Regions from separate parts of the Homo sapiens genome. Here region 2 is linked to region 1. Evidence: promoter capture Hi-C in human tissues and cell types (Jung and others, 2019). All regions are on one chromosome and are shown on one strand. The core of a region is centred on a gene start or on the middle of the fragment in contact, and the rest is flanking DNA. Distances in the headings are between cores, read along the strand shown.

The links. The method cuts DNA at HindIII sites, captures the fragments that hold promoters and counts their contacts. A contact is called where the count stands out against the background at its distance.
Region 2: a fragment that was not itself captured here is called in contact with the fragment with the promoter of RFPL3S in region 1 in 1 of the 25 tissues and cell types used here (thymus).

The regions. Positions count from the first base shown.
Region 1 is chr22:32,368,074-32,372,536 of GRCh38, reverse strand. RFPL3S (RFPL3 antisense) reads left to right here and starts at 1,273. Exons shown (of 5, transcript NR_104232.1): 1 at 1,273-1,339; 2 at 1,596-1,638; 3 at 3,970-4,040. The HindIII fragment of the contact is 22,540 bases long and covers 1-4,463 here.
Region 2 is chr22:33,658,739-33,663,869 of GRCh38, reverse strand. All of the region lies in intron 2 of LARGE1 (LARGE xylosyl- and glucuronyltransferase 1), which reads left to right. Among named protein-coding and RNA genes, the nearest start is that of SNORA50B, 44 kb to the left of the region's middle. The HindIII fragment of the contact is 6,747 bases long and covers 1-5,131 here.

The sequences.
Region 1 (4,463 bases), core at 24-2,523:
GTGTTATGTATCAGCCAGAATACACACGTAGTTATACATTTTGAAAGTTATCTAAAATTCTGCATTCAGAAACACTTTAATTATATGTATTAGGCTGGGCATGGTGGTTCACGCCTCTAATCCCAATACTTTGGGAGGTCGAGGTGGGTGGATTGCTTGAATCCAAGAGTTGAAGACCAGCCTGGGCACCATGGAAAAACCCCATCTCTACAAAATATTAGCTGAGCATGGCGGCAAGAACCTGTAGTCCCAGCTACATGGGAGGCTGAGTTGGGAGGATCACCTGAGCCTGGGAGGTCAAGGCTGCAGTGAGCCATGATCAAGCCACTGCACTCCAGCCTGAGTGACAGAGTGAGACCCTGTCTCAAATAAAAAATTATATGTATTCACCCAAAGTGTTCACCCCACCGAGAAGATGCACTGGTGAAAATATAGTGATTTTTTTTTCCTTTAAATACTCAGTGAATGGCCAGCCGTTTACATACACAATGGTAGACAAATTCCTCTGTGAATTCACAAAGTTTGGGAGATAAATAAGTGCATAGTAATATATAGAGATAAGTGGAAAAATAAGTTTCATAATTATATTGTGAGAGAAATATGATTTTTATAATATCAAGTAACACTTTTTTCTAATTCTGAACAGTTTATTGCTTCTAGAAACATTAGATCACTCAGGAATGGTAGAAATATGACTTTTTAGGGAAATATGACTTTTAAAATGTGACTTTAAAAAATGTCACTTTTTAAGAAACATGACTTTTATAACAATATCCATTTATGCTGTCTTTAATTCTGAACAGTTTGCTTATTGGTTCTAGAAATATTAGATGACTCAGGAATGGTAGAAATATTTGGCAATGGAATTTCGAATCGAGAATGGAACTTCTGGTTGTTACTAACATATCGGTTTTGCCCCTGCTCAGTTTGAAATTCTTGCCATTGAGTGTATTTTGGGGTACACAATTTCTCCTCCTAAAACTTATTTTAATAAGCACAGAATAGTAATTAATGAGCTTGGGTTTTGTTGTTTTTTTTTTAAGTAAAACGCCTAATCTTTTATTTTATTTTATTTTATTTTATTTTTTTACGGAGTCTCGCTCTGTCGCCCAGGCTGGAGTGCAGTGGCGCTATGTCGGCTCACTGCAAGCTCCGCCTCCCGGGTTCACGCCATTCTCCTGCGTCAGCCTCCCGAGTAGCTGGGGGCTCCCGCCACCACGCCCGGCTAATTTTTTGTGTTTTTAGTACAGACGGGGTTTCACCATGTTAGCCAGGATGGTCTCTATCTCCTGACCTCGTGATCCACCCACCTCGGCCTCCCAAAGTGCTGGGATTACAGGTGTGAGCCACCACTCCCTGCCGTAAAAGGCCTAATCTTTAATGACCCTCCTGTGCGTGTGAAAGCACTCTTGTTGGTGCAGCAGAAAGCGGACCTCACAATACACATTGTGACTTTACCCTGAGACGTTGATGATGCTCCTATCACCATGGTTATGTGATTGGGTATATCTTGCCCTCGGTCCTAACTGCCACTGTCTGTGCTGAGTTTTTCAAAGTTCATAGCAGGTTGAACATGCTTGCTGTCATTTTCACAGATTCTGGTCTTTCTTATGGGGAACCTGAGTTCCTGCATTAAAGGTATGTTCACATTGGCCTGTTGAATGCTGTCCTCTCAAATGTACTAGTTAATATTTAAAAATATATTTTATTAAAAAATTCTCCTCTGTATTTTTCATATGCAGTTATAAATGTGTTTCCCGGTTATGTTTTATTCCTCAATTTATATATTTGATTCTAGTATCAAGCAGGATGCCTTTGAGCTTTTCCTTTATTTAAAAGACATGTCTTATTTCCTGTTACATCTGGCACCCCTCAAACCACCCAATTAGGTATCCTTCTGGGAAAAATATGGCAAAGTATGTTTTAATGCAGTTTTTACCTAATTAAGAACCTATTAAAATCATTAATTTTAAAAATTAGGAGCAAAGCTAGAATGATGCAGATGTCTTTGAGGCTTTTAACACAACGAAGTGTGTCCATCTTTGTCTTTTGTTGTTGTTTTTTTGTTTGTTTGTTTGTTTTTGAGATGGAGTCTCACTCTGTCGCCCAGGCTGGAGTGCAACGGTGCGATCTCGGCTCACTACAACCTCCGCCTCCCGGGTTCAAATGATTCTCTCGCCTCAGCCTCCCGAATAGCTGGGATTTCAGGCACCCACCATCATGCCCGGCTAATTTTTGTATTTTTGTAGAGACAAGGTTTTACCATGTTGGCCAGGCTGGTCTTGAACTCCTGACCTCAGGTGATCCACCTGCCTCGGCCTCCCAAAGTGGTGGTGTTACAGGCGTGAGCCACCACACCAGGCCCTGGCCTGTTTTTAGTATGTCTTTCCTCTCTCCTTTTTCATGAAATGTGTATTCAGTTTAGTAAATTTGGAATATGTCATTTATATTCACATATTAACTTTTTGAAAAGAAGTAAGAATGTGTATTGTCTATGTGTCAGTGTGTGAAACAAAACACACTTATTTTTATGATTGGGGTTTATCCAAAATGATAGAGATAACAATTATAGTCAATCACCCAAACCACTTACCTTTCCAAAGGTAAATATAATCAAGTGTAATCATTTTTTCTCATCCAGAGAGTAGTTCATATTTCAACATACAAAGATAGAGAAGTGAAATGAATCGGTAAACACTATTAACCAAGAACATACAGATTTACTCACACCAGGAAACACGTAGGTCACATACATATATGTAAAGATACATTTAAAAATAATAAGATGATAATTGTACAAGTTTGCATATAAAGTGTAACTTTGAAAAACTGTTAATACTGTTTCTGATGGATTGTGTGACTTAGTTCTCCTGACCTATCCTTCAGAGTTCTTTCTAAGGAGGTTGTTCGTTCCATGACTTGGAAACAATCGAAAGTTAGAGGCACTTACATGTGTTAAGAATAAATAAGGCAGCTGGGCGCGGTGGCTCATGCCTGTAATCCCAGCACTTTGGGAGGCCGAGGCAGGCAGATCACCTGAGGTCAGGAGTTCAAGACCAGCCTGACCAACATGGAGAAACCCCATCTCTACTAAAAATGCAAAATTAGCTGGGCGTGGTGGTGCACACCTGTAATTCCAGCTACTCAGGTGGCTAAGGCACAAGAATCACAGAACACAGGATACCACTTCACAATTAGCCTCAGGTGTCACCCTTGTGGCAACTCTCCTGTACAGCTGGGTTAAAGAGCCTCGGTGCTCACATGGGGTCATCTCCTCACTCTGCCTTCCTTCACTGTGGGTAGCTTGGGCTGAAACTAGACCTCATATGGCTAGGTGAACTAGACCTGGCTGAAACTAGGCCCCCTCATGCAATGATTGCAAACACAAGGGATAGGAAGGGAAGACTAAAAGGAAGATCTTTGATTTACAGTGGATATTTTAACATGTATTTCAGTATTTTCCAGTTTTTAATAATTGATTTATAACAAAGAATTGAGTAAATATAATTAGCCCTGGTACCTGATATTGAATTTAGTTCCTCAATAAAAATTTACACATAAACAGGGGCTGAATCCTATACCCCAGATGTTAAATGTTACAGCAGCAGATGGGGGTCTGTGGAGGTTGAAAGGGAGTTGGTCAATATCAAGGAGTCAGTGGCAGTTCTGCTGGACTTTAAAATGGGCTGAGGGAGTGACAGGACTCTGTGGTTGAATTCTAGCATGCATTTTAGTAGTTGCTCATTTGAAGTTTGAGTATTTCGTGTCGCTTTCATCTGCTATTACCTGGAAAGACAAAGGCTCTATTTCTCATTTCCTTTCTGCCCGTCTCTCTGCCTTCCTTGGTCCATAGAAGAGGATGGCCCAGGAGAAGCTCAATTCATGCTTGTTAACCAACCACATCCATAAGTTCTAGCCCTTTGTTCATGTCACCACCAATGAACTGACAGTCATGTTGTGTCCTTTCAGTTCCCCCAGAAGATCAATGGAAGGTGGATTCCAAAGAGTGGGCAAGTGAGGACCCCTTCTCTGTTACCAAGGTAAAGTAGCCTGTCTTTGCCTAACATGTGTGTAATTTTCTTGGTTATTTCATTTTTCAATTGATATCAGATAGAGAAAAATGATCAGGTGCGTTATAGGTGTTAGATGATGTTTCCTTGGGGATGGAGGGGTGCACCCCACCCACTGACACCTGATTGAAGAGGACATCTGGAATTGGCAGGGCTGGGTCACACACAGCATGTTAGGGGACACTTTCCTCTGCAACAAGCTTTCCACTTTAGATTAAGTATTTTGTAACTGCTACTTCAAAATGGTCTTGACAAAGATTTTTTTTTTTTTTTGAGACGGAGTCTTGCTGCGTAGCCCAGGCTGGAGTGCAGTGGTACGATCTCGGCTCACTGCAAGCTCCGCCTCCCGGGTTCACGCCATTCTCCTGTCTCAGCCTCCTGAGTAGCTGGGAC
Region 2 (5,131 bases), core at 1,869-4,368, 1.3 Mb before region 1:
ATACAACATTTTTAATGCTTATTCCAACTGCCAGCCCTGCATTCAGGAACTTGGCACAGGGCTTGTATATGTAGGGGCTCCTGAAATCCTTGTTGGTGAAGATCGTTGGTCCACTGAGGACTCTTCAGAGCCAAAAGATGGAAGTATAAAGTGCAGTAGATTTCACCAGCAATTTCAGAAAGTTTAGCAAGGCTTGAACCAGGATATCCTCTTGGCCAATCAGCCGCGTCATCCCCATCCTGACACTGTCTCTGAGATCAGTCCCTCAGGTGGGCCTCTGTCCTGCAAGGGGCTTTTCTTTTTGGGGTCAGAAATTGGGATCCTGTACTGGAGGCTTCACCATCATAGGCTTCCCCTTGGTCCTCTGCACCTGTTACTTCCTGCACTCAAGCGCATCATTCCTCTCAGCTTGCAGAGGAAAATCCTGACTTTGCCTTATAGTGGTATTGAGTTGAGGGTTCTTAGTTTTATTCTTCTTACTTTTATAAGACTGCTGGAAGCACCTTATAAAAACTCTCCGGTGTAGGACTTGGAAGAAAATACCCGTCCGTCAAAAGTAGAGATGGCGGGTTTTGACCTTAATAAGTATTAACACAAGATTTTACCCAAACATCTATCTTGCTCTTGGTAACATGTTATCTTTGCCAAGTGCCCATCCCAATAAAGCGTTATTTCTGTCAAGCTGAACTCCTGATGAAATCTTCTATTCCCCTCTCTCCCTGATCGGTTTCGATAAAACCTCATTCCTCATTCTGATTTTCTCCTAAGGGATGGTTTGGATTTGTCAGGAAAGGGTGAAAAAAGAGGTGATTTTTTTTTTCATTTTCCTCCTCTTATTTCTTTTTCTAATATAGATACTTGTTGGAATTGGAATATAACTTTAATGTAAGTCAAACTGATAAAGGGTGGTTGGACACTACTGTGAAGAAGGAAAAGAAGATAGGAAAAAGGAGGACAGTCACTTACAGGCAAAGGAATGTCCAGCCAGGCTTTTGCTTGTTTTCTCTTGTTTTTAATTTACAATGGAGCTGAGGAAGATAACACTGATTTAGGTGAAGTGGCATTTTACAGCAGGGGGATGCCATTGAAGGAATCAATGACATTCACAAAAGTACTTGCTTCCATTTTTTTTTTTGGAATGGGTTAGAATATTCTGGATGGCAGCTACTCATGCCGTTGGATGGCTATGTTGCCACTGCTAACTTTAACAAGTACAGAGTCCCCCTTATCTTTGATAACTAGCTCTTTCTATTCCTCTTTTTACCAGCCCCATCATTTCTGTCTCTCATCTGGTTCCACTATCGAAGAGTGAACACTGCAGGCCAGAGTTGGACACTTCTGGTGAAGTGTGGCTTGCATAGCAGGTGGTCTCCATAGAAGGCTAGGCAAGGGGTGGGGAGTTTGGATGAAGGGCGGTGATTTGTCTCAAAGCCAGTTGACTGTAGAGGAGATGGGGTATGTCAGAGGGCCCCGAGAATATGGTGCAAGTCAAGTCCATCCTCACTGATGCTGGGGCTCCTGAAAAGATGGGGCAGGGCCTTTCCTCCCATGTTGATCTTGCTTACATGCAGTATAAGGGAAGAGAACTTTTGCTCAGGTTTGGCAGGTGCACCATTTCAAGGGCAGTGGTCAGATAGGCAAACTGACCATTCTACCTGACGCATAGCCTAAAGAACACTCTCTGGACCAGGCTTATCCAACCTGTGGACAGCTTTGAATGTGGCCCAACACAAATTTGGCCACTTTGAAAACACTATGAGATTCTTTTCCTTTTTTTTTTTTTTTTTTTTTTTGGCTCCTAAGCTGTCCTTAGTGTTAGTGTTTTTTATGTGTGGCCCAAGACAATTCTTCTTCCAGTGTGGCCCAGGGAAGCCAAAAGATTGGACACCCCTGCTCTAGATTTTTAGTCATGTTTCACATTCAGTTTTCTTCTTACAGTCCCAAGACATTCATGGAACAACTGTCTTCCAAATACAGAGAAGGATATCAAAGTCTGAGTGGGTTATCTGGTAGTCCCCCTCCCTCCCGAGGACAGCAGAACACCATAGTTCAATTCTGATGCAGTCCAATTAAAGACACACTCATGATGTACGGTCATCATTCTGTTGGATCCTTTTTGATGAGAGTCCCTAACTCTTCTCTGTAGATCTGAATTTCACTTGGATATTTCTCCTCTCAAGTGAAGCAGGAGGGGCACAGAAGCCCAAGGAGCAGGAATGAATGGGGTCAGGGCTTTGCTGATTTGTCTGGCATCCTCAAATAGCTGCTGTTTGCCATTGAAATCTTTCATCCTCTGTAACCCAAACCAGACATTATTGTCAGTGCTCCTCATTTAAAAAAAAAAAATCACAGAAATGCCAGGTGCGGAAGCTCACATCTGTAATCCCAGCACTTTGGGAGGCTGAGGCAGATGGATCACTTGAGGTCAGGAGTTCGAGGAACAGGCTGGCCAACATGGTGAAACCCCGTCTCTACTAAAAATGCAAAAATTAGCCAAGCATGGTGGCGCGCCTGTAATCCCAGCTACTTGGGAGGCTGAGGCAAGGGAATCGCTTGAACCTGGGAGGTGGAGGTCGCAGTGAGCCAAGACTGAGCCCCTGTACTCCAGCCTGGGCAACAGAGCGAGACCCTGGCTCAAAAAAAAAAAAAAAATCATAGAACCTTTTTTGGTAATAAATATGGCCAACCAGAATGACAGTTTGAGGCTTACAGCAAGTATAGATTCACAAAGTGAGAAAAGGATAGTTTTCAACATACTCAGTATGATGAATGCAAAATAAAATTGAAAATCTTTGCTAAAAAATCATCCCATGTGGGTCTTCTGATTTGAACAAGATTTTAGCTACAAAAAAAAAAATCAAACCTCATTAAAAATTTTTACTGTAAAATATGATTCTTAGCACGTGTGATTCGCCTCACTCTTGGAACATTTTAGTGGGATTTTATAAGGGCTATGAATATTTCATATCAAATAACACATTTATTGCAAAGGTTTTAAAAAATTAAATCAGTGGAAAAAACACTTATGAAATCTTTCATCTTGAGTGCTGCTAAAGAGAAAATTAAGAAATTCTATAGTATTTCTGCATTTGATTTTATAGTAAATAGCCACATTGAGGACACTCAGTTGATGCTTTGCAAAGGATAAAATCGTTATGGTTGTTTAGCTTTTAGTTTTGATGAATCTACCAACAAAGGGGATTGTGTCCAACTATTGCATATGTATGAAATAGGACTCAAGAAACTGGGGAAGGAGAAAGGATGCTTTCTCAGACTCAACCATTGGAGACCGTCACTAACGCTGGTGATGCCTTCAAGGCTGTGTAAAAGTGATTGAAGTTTAGGGGCTAACTGGGGGCAGAGGCTCTTCAAAGATGACTGGAATGTGAATTTATTGTGCTCTCACACACAGATCAATTGTCAGGATTTGCGGTGAATATCTATTCACCTTTTCTAGTATACACTGTTATCATTACCCTCCAATGACGGTTTTCTAAACCACCTGGTGATCTAAGAGAAGACCTTCACTCTGCTGTCAAGTCCTTCCATTTTTCTAGGAAACAGAGCACTAAATACATTATCTTTTTTGGCCTTGGTTGGTGACGATTTGAATGCTACTAACAAAGCCCTTTTGTCCATACTCAGACTCCTTGAGTATATGACGGGCCAGTTATAGAAGCAGGAAGACATGGTTGCCCCACCATGGTAACAGCAGTTCAAAGACCAACTGCCTCCAACTTTCAAAACTTAGCATATTTGGCAAAAAAAAAAAAAAAAAACACACACACACACACACACAACAAAACATTTGAAGCTTTGAAATCATTGAACCTGAAGTTTCAAAAGACAAAAACTGGTATCATTGCTCGTTAGAACACACTTCAAGCATTTGTAGTCTAAACCCAGGTATAGGTACAGCAAATTGGTGCTAAAAATGTCTTCATTTTCTTGACTTAATGAAGCTCTTTAAGCTAACGTTCTTGGAAATGATTTTATGGAAGACAAAAGTCAGATCTCATTCAGCCTATTATGGTGCAGTGAATCCAGGCCTCTTTCCCTGGCACTGTAGTTGCAAATTCTTTTTAGAAGCTAGTGAGGAACTCTCCTTTTTTTTTTTTTTTTTTTAACTGTTCTTCCATCTTTGTCAGAAGATCTGTCTCCAGGGCCTTTGCTGGAACTCAAGTGTGCTTTGGTTGCCAAAGATAACTTCCAGAAAATCACTTAGGGGAATTTTGGGGCAAAACATTCCCTGTGTACCTCATAAAAAGCGAGCAGCCTTTGTGTGTCATCATTGCCATTTTCCTTCCCACAGCAAATCTGATTCCATGCTTTTGAAACTTAAGAAAATGGCTCAGCCTGGACCTGTGTCTTGCTGTGACTTATAAACTGCCTAGAAAAGAAAAGCTGATGACACGTTGGCAGACTCAGCTCTCCTGTGGACATCTCATGATCAAAATTAACTTTTAAGATCAAACTGAGTTTTCTAAATTTTTCTAAAATGACTTTGGCTGCAATATTTAATTTACTTTGAAATATCAAATGATATTAGATATTTGGCATTGAATGAGGGTGTGAAATCTTTATGTTAATTAAAAGGAGGGCATTTTCTAACAAAAATTACAAATTGCTAAATGAATATAGTCTCATATGGAGAATGAAAAATTGAAACATATATTGGAATAAGGTGACCTGTGATTGGTCAAGAGAAAGGAACCAGAAACCGGAGAAGCTGGATAGTCAGGCAGCTGGGCTAGAAGGGAACTGCTTTTGAAGGAGACTGTCTTCCAGGAAGCAGGGCGATGCCGAGGAGCAAAGCAGGCCCTATGCTTGGAGGAGCTACAATACCAGGAAATCATGTGGGTCTGGGTCACATGATGGAAGCTGCTGAGAGAATACAGTAGAGGCTTGTGTAAGGGAAATGGAGTGCAGGGTCAGAGCAATACTATAATTAAGTGTGGCAATGCTAAGACTTCCTTTGAATCTAGAGAGTCTGGGGAAATGCCTCAGCCAGCATTTCTCAACCTTCATTACACATGAGAATCCCATGGGAGTGGCTGTTTTTAAAAATGCTGAAAACCCAAAGGAATATAAATCATTCTGTTACAAAGATACATGCACACATATGTTTATT